Regions from separate parts of the Homo sapiens genome. Here region 2 is linked to region 1. The links are contacts of gene promoters, found by promoter capture Hi-C in blood cells and fetal thymus (Javierre and others, 2016). All regions are on one chromosome and are shown on one strand. Each heading gives the region's core, a stretch centred on a gene start or on the middle of the fragment in contact. The rest is flanking DNA. Distances are from core to core; before and after follow the strand shown. Region 1 holds the start of SORBS1 (sorbin and SH3 domain containing 1). Region 2 overlaps LOC107984257 (a long non-coding RNA gene).

Region 1 (3,962 bases), core at 390-2,889:
CCTAGACGTGCTCAATAAATACTAGCTGTTTTATTACTTTATAGCCCAGAGAGAGCTGTCTTACACAGATTGTGGAGTAAATAAATAGGAGAGCCGGGGAAGTGTTCTTTGAAAAGCTGCAGGATGAGGTGCAGATAGGGGAAGGCCGTGGGCTGGGGGCTCCCTAGGTTGAGTAGTTCCCCAGTGTTTTCTCATTTATAGAGTAAGCTTCCAGATGGCTAGGACTCTTCTTTTTTTTTTTAATACACAGCAGAGGACACCAGGTGGTCACCAAAGACTTGTCACCGTTCCCTGACATCTAAGAATCTTTGCTGATGAGTTTCCGATCAGTCTGTGCAGTTATCAAGGCCAGTCTTTACCCTGCCACCCACAGCCTGTTCACTGAGAATGTGCTCTGGCTGAAGATGCTTGCAAGGGCAGCTGACAAAAATCAGTTGTGCTCAGCCCAAAGGGCGAGTGTCTTATCTTCAGGGATGTGGGAAGCTGGGCATGGAGGGAGCAAGTTCCAGACCAGTACTTGCTGGCTCTGCGACCTTGGGCCAGCAGATTCCCCACTCTGATCCCTGTCTCTGTTTCCTTTTCTGTAACTCTGAGGGGGACTAGAGGAGGTCAGGAGAATGGCATAGCACAGTGGTTAGCTCTGAACCCCATCTAACACGGTGCCTTCCCCCCACTTGCAATGACCTTGTTGCATTGTATGCACTCTACTTTTCACATTGTAGAGGATCTTATTTATTTACTTGTCTCCACTAAAATGGAAGCTTCCTAAGGGAAAAGGCCTTGCCTGTCTTGTTCTCTGCAGTTAACACTGGGGTCCAGCACTGCCACAGAGCCTCTAAATATATGTGTGTTGCATGAGTGAAATCTCAGAGCCTGGGTTCAAATCCTGGTTGCACCACTTGCTGTGTGACCTCGGACAAGCCACTTAAACTACACCTCAGTTTTCCTGCATAAAAATAGTAATTATTTTCAGTTTTCTCACTAGAAAAATATGGATTAGTAATCGTTCCTCTCTTATCAGGCTAAGAGGATCAAATGAGGAAATATCCGGGAAGCATTAAGCACACTGGCTGGTACAGAGCACACGAATGACAACAGCAAACGTTTATGTAGCACGACGGCCAGGAACTGATCAAAATGCATCACCTATGTTAACTATGTTAATCTTCACTAGATTTTACGAAGTCGGACTATTATGCCATTTTACAGATGGGTAAACTGAGGCCCAGGAGTTAAATAACTTATCACTGTTATTTTACGTCTAAGGTTCCTTCCAAGCTCCCCGTGGGCGACCCTTCCGAAGGACCAGAAGGCGCGCCAGGCCAGCGTCCGGCCCGGCCAGGACGGAAAGGGTTACTAGGCCCGCGCGCCCGTTACCGGCGGAGGCCGGCGGGCTCACAATGCCAGGAGCCGGGCGCCGGACACTTCTTCGCCTCCCATCCGCGCACACGCCCCTTCCTGTCACGGCTGGGCCCGGCCCCGCCCCCGGCACCGCCCGCTGGCCGGGCGCTGCCAGAGTGGACGGTTCCAGAGGCATGCTAATGAGGGGGCGGGCACCGCAGCCCATTGGTTGTCCGCGGAGTGTCGGTGAAGTCAGCGCTGAGTCCCAGAAAAACAGAGCGGGGCCAGCTGCAGCGTGTAGTGCGAGTGGGGCGGACGCGCGCAGCCCGCCCGCCCGGCGACCAGCAAGGTAAGCCCGCGCTCGCCCGCCCGGCCGCGCTTGCCCGCTCGGCGGCGGCAGCGCCGGGGGTGTGCGCGGCTCGGCCCCCGCGGGCGGCGCCTTTGTTCCGCGCTCGGAGGAGGCGCATTTAAAGGGCCAGCTGTTGGAGGGACTTGGGGGACCCCCTCCCCCAGAGCATCCCCCCATGGGCACAGGGAAAGCGGTGGTCCCTCGCGGCCGAACCGTCCATCCTGCCTGCTCGGCGAATCCCCAGTCTTTCAAGGAAAGTTCCCCAGGGTGCGGAGGATCTGGGGGCTTCCAGGGTTGGGGGTTTTTAAATTTCCTTTTTTGGTGGGTGTGGGGTAGTACGATCATGGCCTCTGCTAGGAGAGAATGTCCGCCCGTCTCAGGGTGGCTGCAATTTGGGTGGGTGGAGGAGACATCAAAGCCCGAATGGGTTTGTGCTGTAAAGTGAAACTACCGAGGAGGGGCACCTCTGCAGCAGCCAGAGGAAGGCGGAGGGAGCGAGCGGCGGGATGGAGGCATCTCAGGTGTGTTCATTCATCAGCATCCCCTGGAGAGGGCGGCGGGAGGGGCGCAAGGACGACGCGGTTGGCCGGACCCGCCTGAATGAACGGGGACTAGTATGCGCCGGGGACACGGCGCCTGCCCGTGCCGCCCGTGCCCCTTCTTCTCCCCGAGTGGCTGACAGCATCTTGCTAGGCAGCTCATCACCGACATGGACAGCAAGCAACTCCTTTCTCCGAATTCCCCGGGCATCCCCTGCTACCACCTCGCTGCTTTCCGATGTGGCTTCCTTGATACGTGGTAGCGCCATTCAAGATAGAGGGGAAAGAGGCTTGAAGTCATTATGTTTCCTTCATGGGGGAATGTGCTGTCGAATTCTGCATCCCCATGCATCCGCTGTCGTAAGATGGCTTTGAAATTCACCAGTGCATGCTTTCTCCAGGCAGACAAGAATTTATTACGCTATTACATTGCTACGTAAAAGCAGAAGGGATCCCACTGAGCATGGCTCGTTTTGTTCAGTCCTCGGTTTTTCCCAGCATGTTCTGGGCGAGCCTTTGGATTTTTGTTTTAAACACTGAGCGTTGGGATGCCCCTGTTGTCACAGGGCCGACCTGCTGAAATTGCTGGAATTGGTTTCATCGTCAATAGGAGGGAGGTTCATCTAGAGACATCATGGAACCTATCTGGCGTGTCAGGCCTCTGACTCCATCTCTCCCCTCAACACCCCCCCCCCCGCCCAGCCCCCCGCGCCCTTTTTTCCTCTTAAGTGGAGGCGGGGGATGGATTGGCTGTCTTCACTCTCCTTGTGTTTTGAGCTCCTCTGCTTAGATTCAATTCTGTGGTTTTGGTTGGAAAGGTATCTTGGTGGTGATCGAAGAGAGGAGGGTTGGATTAAAAGTGGGGTGGACACAGAGGGGTCAGCAGCATCAATGACAGAAGACAGATGATGGACATATCTACAGCCTTCAGACACCGATGAGGCAGATGGCTGTCTACAGAGTGAGGGGCGTGTGTTTGGGCTGTGAGGGGGAGGGGTGGAGGAGGAGGATGCCTCCAGCAGTTTTCTGCCCCGCCCTCTGGATGCTGCCTTAAATAGCCCCTTGCCAACCAAGCTCTGATGTCTCTTTCTTGGCCTGAGGGGAAAGAAGGGAAGGGTTGGTCTGTTGGCACCTTTGCCCAAGGCACTGTTGGAGCAGATGGTTAGGAAAGGGTTAGTTCTCCAGGGGTTGCAGAGAGCACATTTCTCAGCTGGAGGGCCCTGAGACCACTCCTTTGGCGACTTCCCTGCAGGGAATTAGCAACTGAAATGAACTGCTGTCTACCCTGTGGGGTAAAGAGTTGGGAGGGTATTGTCATCTTGTGGACGATACCCGCCTTGTTGGCCTTTTCCTTCTCCTACCTGCTTTCATTTGTTGTAGTTGGAGAGTTTCTGTATACTTTTCGGAAGAGATTGGGCATATTGGGGAGTGGGTAGGAGTTATGGGAAAGGATGAGCAAATTCTTCCTGGCAGAACAAAGCACTGTTCAGCTGTTCCTCTCTTTCCCCTTCTCTAAAATAAGAGTTCAATACAGATAGCAGAGTCTAGGGTTTTCTTTGTAAACAATGAAAGGGCAGGGCCAGGAAAGAAAGTTTTTATTGTGCAGCATTGATAATGATCAGGTCATCCTAACTTATCTCCAGACCCTTCCCTGGATGTGGAGATAGATTTGCTGTAGAGGGCACTCTATGGTAATTTAGGATTTGACCTGTCTCTAGGAGAAAGGCATGGAT
Region 2 (4,442 bases), core at 1,513-4,012, 380 kb after region 1:
GATTTTACAGGTATTTTAGGAGACAGTAAACTCATAATGTATACTGATCCACATTCAAGCATTAGTTTCTTGCATATAAAACCTCTCTGAACTCTTAAAACACTTATCTTCAGCACTCACTGCTAAGGCATGTAAAGTGTGTACTTTTGGGAAAAATATGCTGTCCTTGAGCAGCCACTTTCTGAATGGGAGCAGTAGCTCTGAGCACAATGATTAAAGATGGGGATCAAATGGACAAGAAGGACAAAGGCCATTTTGTCACTACTTGGGAAAGCATTCCCAGTCATGGTCACTCTGGTTCCATCTGGCAACTGTCTGGACACAGATAACCATAGTGGACTCTCCTACCTAGATTAGATCCAACAGGGCCACAAAAGCTGCAGGTCTCATGGTGGTTGTCTGAACTCTGAGAAACTGAAAAGTACAGCAGAGCGAAGATACACAAACAATTAATTTGAAAGCTAAGAAGAGAGAATTTAAAATTTCCTAAGGTATCAGGCTTGAAAATGAGAGGGGAGACGGAGAGAAAATATACTTTTCTCTATGAAAAAACTTAAATAAGAGAATATGGAAAGGGAAAGAAATAAAAAATATATGAAGAAGGGTGAGATATAAACCTTTTTAACCTTTGAGACCACAGGTCATAGCATTCTTTACATGTGGTAGTGTCACATTTTTATGATATACCACATAGTGTAGTGTCAAACAGTGTGCCATACATTCTACCACGTACTACACATTCTACCACATGTGGTACACTCCATTCTTATACATTCTTATACATGTGGTAGTTTCACATTTCTTGCACCCTCACAAATAATTTTACAGAATCTTAGACTGTCAACATTGGAAGTAATCTTTATGTTGAACCCCTTATCCAGTGTTTAACTGTACTGATATAGATCAACCTCAGCAAGGAATTACTAATTTGATTTAAAAAGACATGTAGGTATTATTTCAGTGGGACAAATTCTGCTCAAGTGATGCACAAAATACATGGAAATATGAGCTGCTGCCAATACGGAAATATCCTATAGGATAGGTCAACAGACAAGACCCAGTTCTTTCCCTTACAAAACCTGTGACTTTCTAGAGGAGGCAAATTTATAACAAATTACCTGCAATTTAAGGCAATGAACTCAAATGCCCCATAAGCAGTATAAACAAAGTGCCACTGAAACACTTGCAGAGTGTACAGATTCCTTCTGGCTAATCTTGAAGATCAGAGCTACTTAACAGCGTGAAGGATAAGAGTTGGTCTCAGTCATAATCCTAAGCAAATTAATACAGGAATAGAAAAACCTAATACCGCACTTTCTCACTTATAAGTGGGAGCTAAACATAGAGCATCCATTGACATAAACATGGGAACAGTAGACACAGTGTACTAGAGTGGGGAAGGAGGGAGAGGAGCGTGGGTTGAAAAACGACCTACTGAGTACTATGCTCACTACTTAATTGCAGTATACCCATGTAACAAACCTGCACATGTACTCCCTGTATCTAAAATAAAAGTTAAAAAAAAAGTCCTCAGAAGGCTCAGGGGAATTTTGAGAGGCGAATGCGGCCATGAGCAAGGGTGGAGGTGGGAAATGCAAGACAGCTTAATTTATCCAAATGCTCAAAGATGCTAGGAAAAGAGAGGTTAGATGACCTATGAAAAATGCAGCCAAGATAGAAGCAACAACAACAACCAACAACAAAACCCCCAAAACTCTAAGAATAAACGTTTTCAAGACATTTGCCCTTTTAAAAGACTCAAAGGAAACAGAATAGGTTCTTTTGATTGGAAGTATTCAATTGGCCTAACACTGCCTAAATGATAGGGTTGTTCCTGAACACTGGACCTTTCCAGATCCCTCCATAGGTATCTGGGCCATGGTGATCAGAAGAAATTTATTAATACTTATCTTAATGGGAAGTGTCTGATCAACTCCCTTTTTCTCTTTCTCTCTCCCTGCCTTGGGTAAATCAAGAGATGACAAGTGACACATTTCACAAAGGAAATGACAATAATAATTCACCTCCTGGTCATATGTGATTCCCCCACTACAAACATTCCAGCAGAATATAGCCATTTATTTTGGTATCTGATGGGTTTCTTAGGGCTCTCATCAAACTGGCTGAACAGGGAATCCCTAGGGGCAGCCTGCCAGAGAAGAAGAAAAGGGATGACCCAGATGTTGCTAAAAATCAACAAACTCGAAATAACAGAGTGCAAAAGACATTTCACTTTTTTTCCGTAAGTTATAGGGGGTACAGGTGGTATTTGGTTACACAGACTAGTGCTAAAACCAACGATTAAGTATTAGTGTTCTTGGAGCTGTCAAGCTTTCACAAACATAAATAATGTACTCATAGGGAAACAAGGTTCACACAGGTTGGACCCCAAACTTGCAGAACTTGAAACAGGATCTTGCAGAGGGCTTCCAAGAATGCCCATGATGATTATTAAATAAGATTCCTTATGTTTTAAAAAACAACTTTATTGAAATAGAACTCATATAGCATACAACTTCCCCATTTCAGGCATACAATTCAATGGCTTTTAGTATATTCACAAATCCTTTTTTTTTCATATATATGTACCACACTTTATCCGTTCATCCGTTGATACTTAGGTTGATTTCATATTTTGGCTGTTGTGAATAGTGCTGCAATAAACTGGGAGTGCAGATGTCTCTTCGACATACTGATTTTCTTTCTTGTAGGCATATACCCAGCAGTGGGATTGCTGAATCATATGATAGTTCTATTTTTAGTTCTTTGAGGAACCTCCATGCAGTTTTCCATAGTGGATAAACTATTTTATGTTCCTACGAAGAGTGTTTGAGCGCTCCCATTTCTCTGTGTCCTTTTCAGCATTTGTTATTTTCTGAGTTTTTGACAATTGCCATTTTAATTGAGGTTAAATTATATTTTATTGTGGTTTTGATTTGGATTTATCTGATGATTAGTGATGTTAAACATGTTTGCATATAACTGTTGGCCATTTGTGTATCTTCTCTTGGGAAATGTCTATTGAAATCTTTTGCCCATTTTTAAATTGGATTATTTGGAATTTTTGTTTTTGAGTTCTTACGTATTCTTGTTAGTGATCCCTTGTTGGATGAATAGTTTGGAAAATTTTTCTCCCATTCTGTGGGTTGTCTCTTCACTTTATTTTTATTTTTATTGATGTGAAGAAGCTTTTTAGCTTGATGTAATTCTATTTATCAATTTTTGCATTCGTTACCCGTGCTTTTGAGGTCTTACTCAGGAAATCTTTGCCTAGACCAGTGTTCTAAAGTATTTCCCCTATGTTTTCTTCTAGTAGTTTCATAGTTTCCTACATGTAAGTTTTTAATTCATTTTGATTTGATTTTTATATATGATGAGGCATAGAAGTCTAGTTTTATTCTTCACGTGTCTCATTTTCCCAGTACCATTTATTGAAGAGACCATCTGTTTCCCAAGGTATGTTCCTGGTGCCTTGGTCAAAAATGAGTTGGTTGTAAATGCAAGGATTTATTTCTGGGTTCTCCATTCTGTTTCACTGGGCCGTGAAATCCTTACTTTTCGATATTATAAGTCACCATTTTCAGCTTTCCATCCTGTCAACCTTGCTGTATTTGGGCCAAGCAGGGCATGCAGGACCCAGAACTTGGTGTGGACAGGTGGGGCCAGAGCCCCTGTAGGCTGCTCAAGAAATCTGCACTGAGGTCTGCAGGGAGGACCAAATCCCCATAGATGATTCCACAAAAACACTGTTAGGTAAACCACAGTGTGAAACAGCTTGAGAAATAGAATCTGTGTCATATCCAACATTTACTCACACTCATAACTGCATGAGCGGGATACTTGAGCAGGAGGACCCAGAAGAACACCCTCTTCACCTGCATGTCCAGGTCCCCTTTGTGTCACCTAGGGCAAGAGGCTGGAAGGAGAGGCATCTGGGATAGGGGCAGGCTATGGTCGGGGCAGTGGGGTGGTAGGACCTGGACAGTGGGGGTGGTGGGGTTAGTGAAAGGTCTGGGGCAGGGCAGAGATCAGGAGGAACAGCATTCCAGCAGGGCTGGGAGACATGTCAGTAGGTTGGCAGACACAGGAGCAGGTGGCCTGGGACTCAGAGGAGCAGCTGGAGTTGGAGGAGAAGGGCTCTGTTTTCCTCCAGTCTTCTGCTTGGCTGCTGCATTAGCACCCCACTGCACCCCCAACACTCGTCTCTCCCTTGCCCTCACTTCCTGAGTCTTAAAACCAATTCCTTCATCCCCAGCATGCACCTTCCTAAGGACAGTTCCCCTCTGGATCCTTCCTAAGGTTCTAACTATTTATTTATTTATTGAGACAAGGCTTGCTCTGTCGCCCAGGCAGGAGTGCAGTGGCACCATCTCGGCTCACTGCAACCTCCGCCTCCCGGGTTCAAGCAATTCTCCTGCCTCAGCACACCCTAGTAGCTAGGA

Evidence for each region. Contacts are between HindIII fragments. The CHiCAGO score rates a contact against its expected background, and 5 or more counts as called.
Region 2: a contact is called between a fragment that was not itself captured here and the fragment with the promoter of SORBS1 in region 1, in 1 of 17 cell types (M1 macrophages). The highest score is 5.0, in M1 macrophages.

What each region holds. Positions count from the first base shown.
Region 1 is chr10:95,559,048-95,563,009 of GRCh38, reverse strand. It overlaps SORBS1 (sorbin and SH3 domain containing 1), which reads left to right and starts at 1,639. Exons shown (of 33, transcript NM_001034954.3): 1 at 1,639-1,690. RefSeq lists silencers at 1,290-1,659, 1,700-1,809 and an enhancer at 1,294-2,056. The HindIII fragment of the contact is 3,213 bases long and covers 764-3,962 here.
Region 2 is chr10:95,184,566-95,189,007 of GRCh38, reverse strand. The region is part of intron 3 of LOC107984257 (a long non-coding RNA gene); the gene reads left to right. Among named protein-coding and RNA genes, the nearest start is that of ACSM6, 7.5 kb to the left of the region's middle. The HindIII fragment of the contact is 857 bases long and covers 2,334-3,190 here.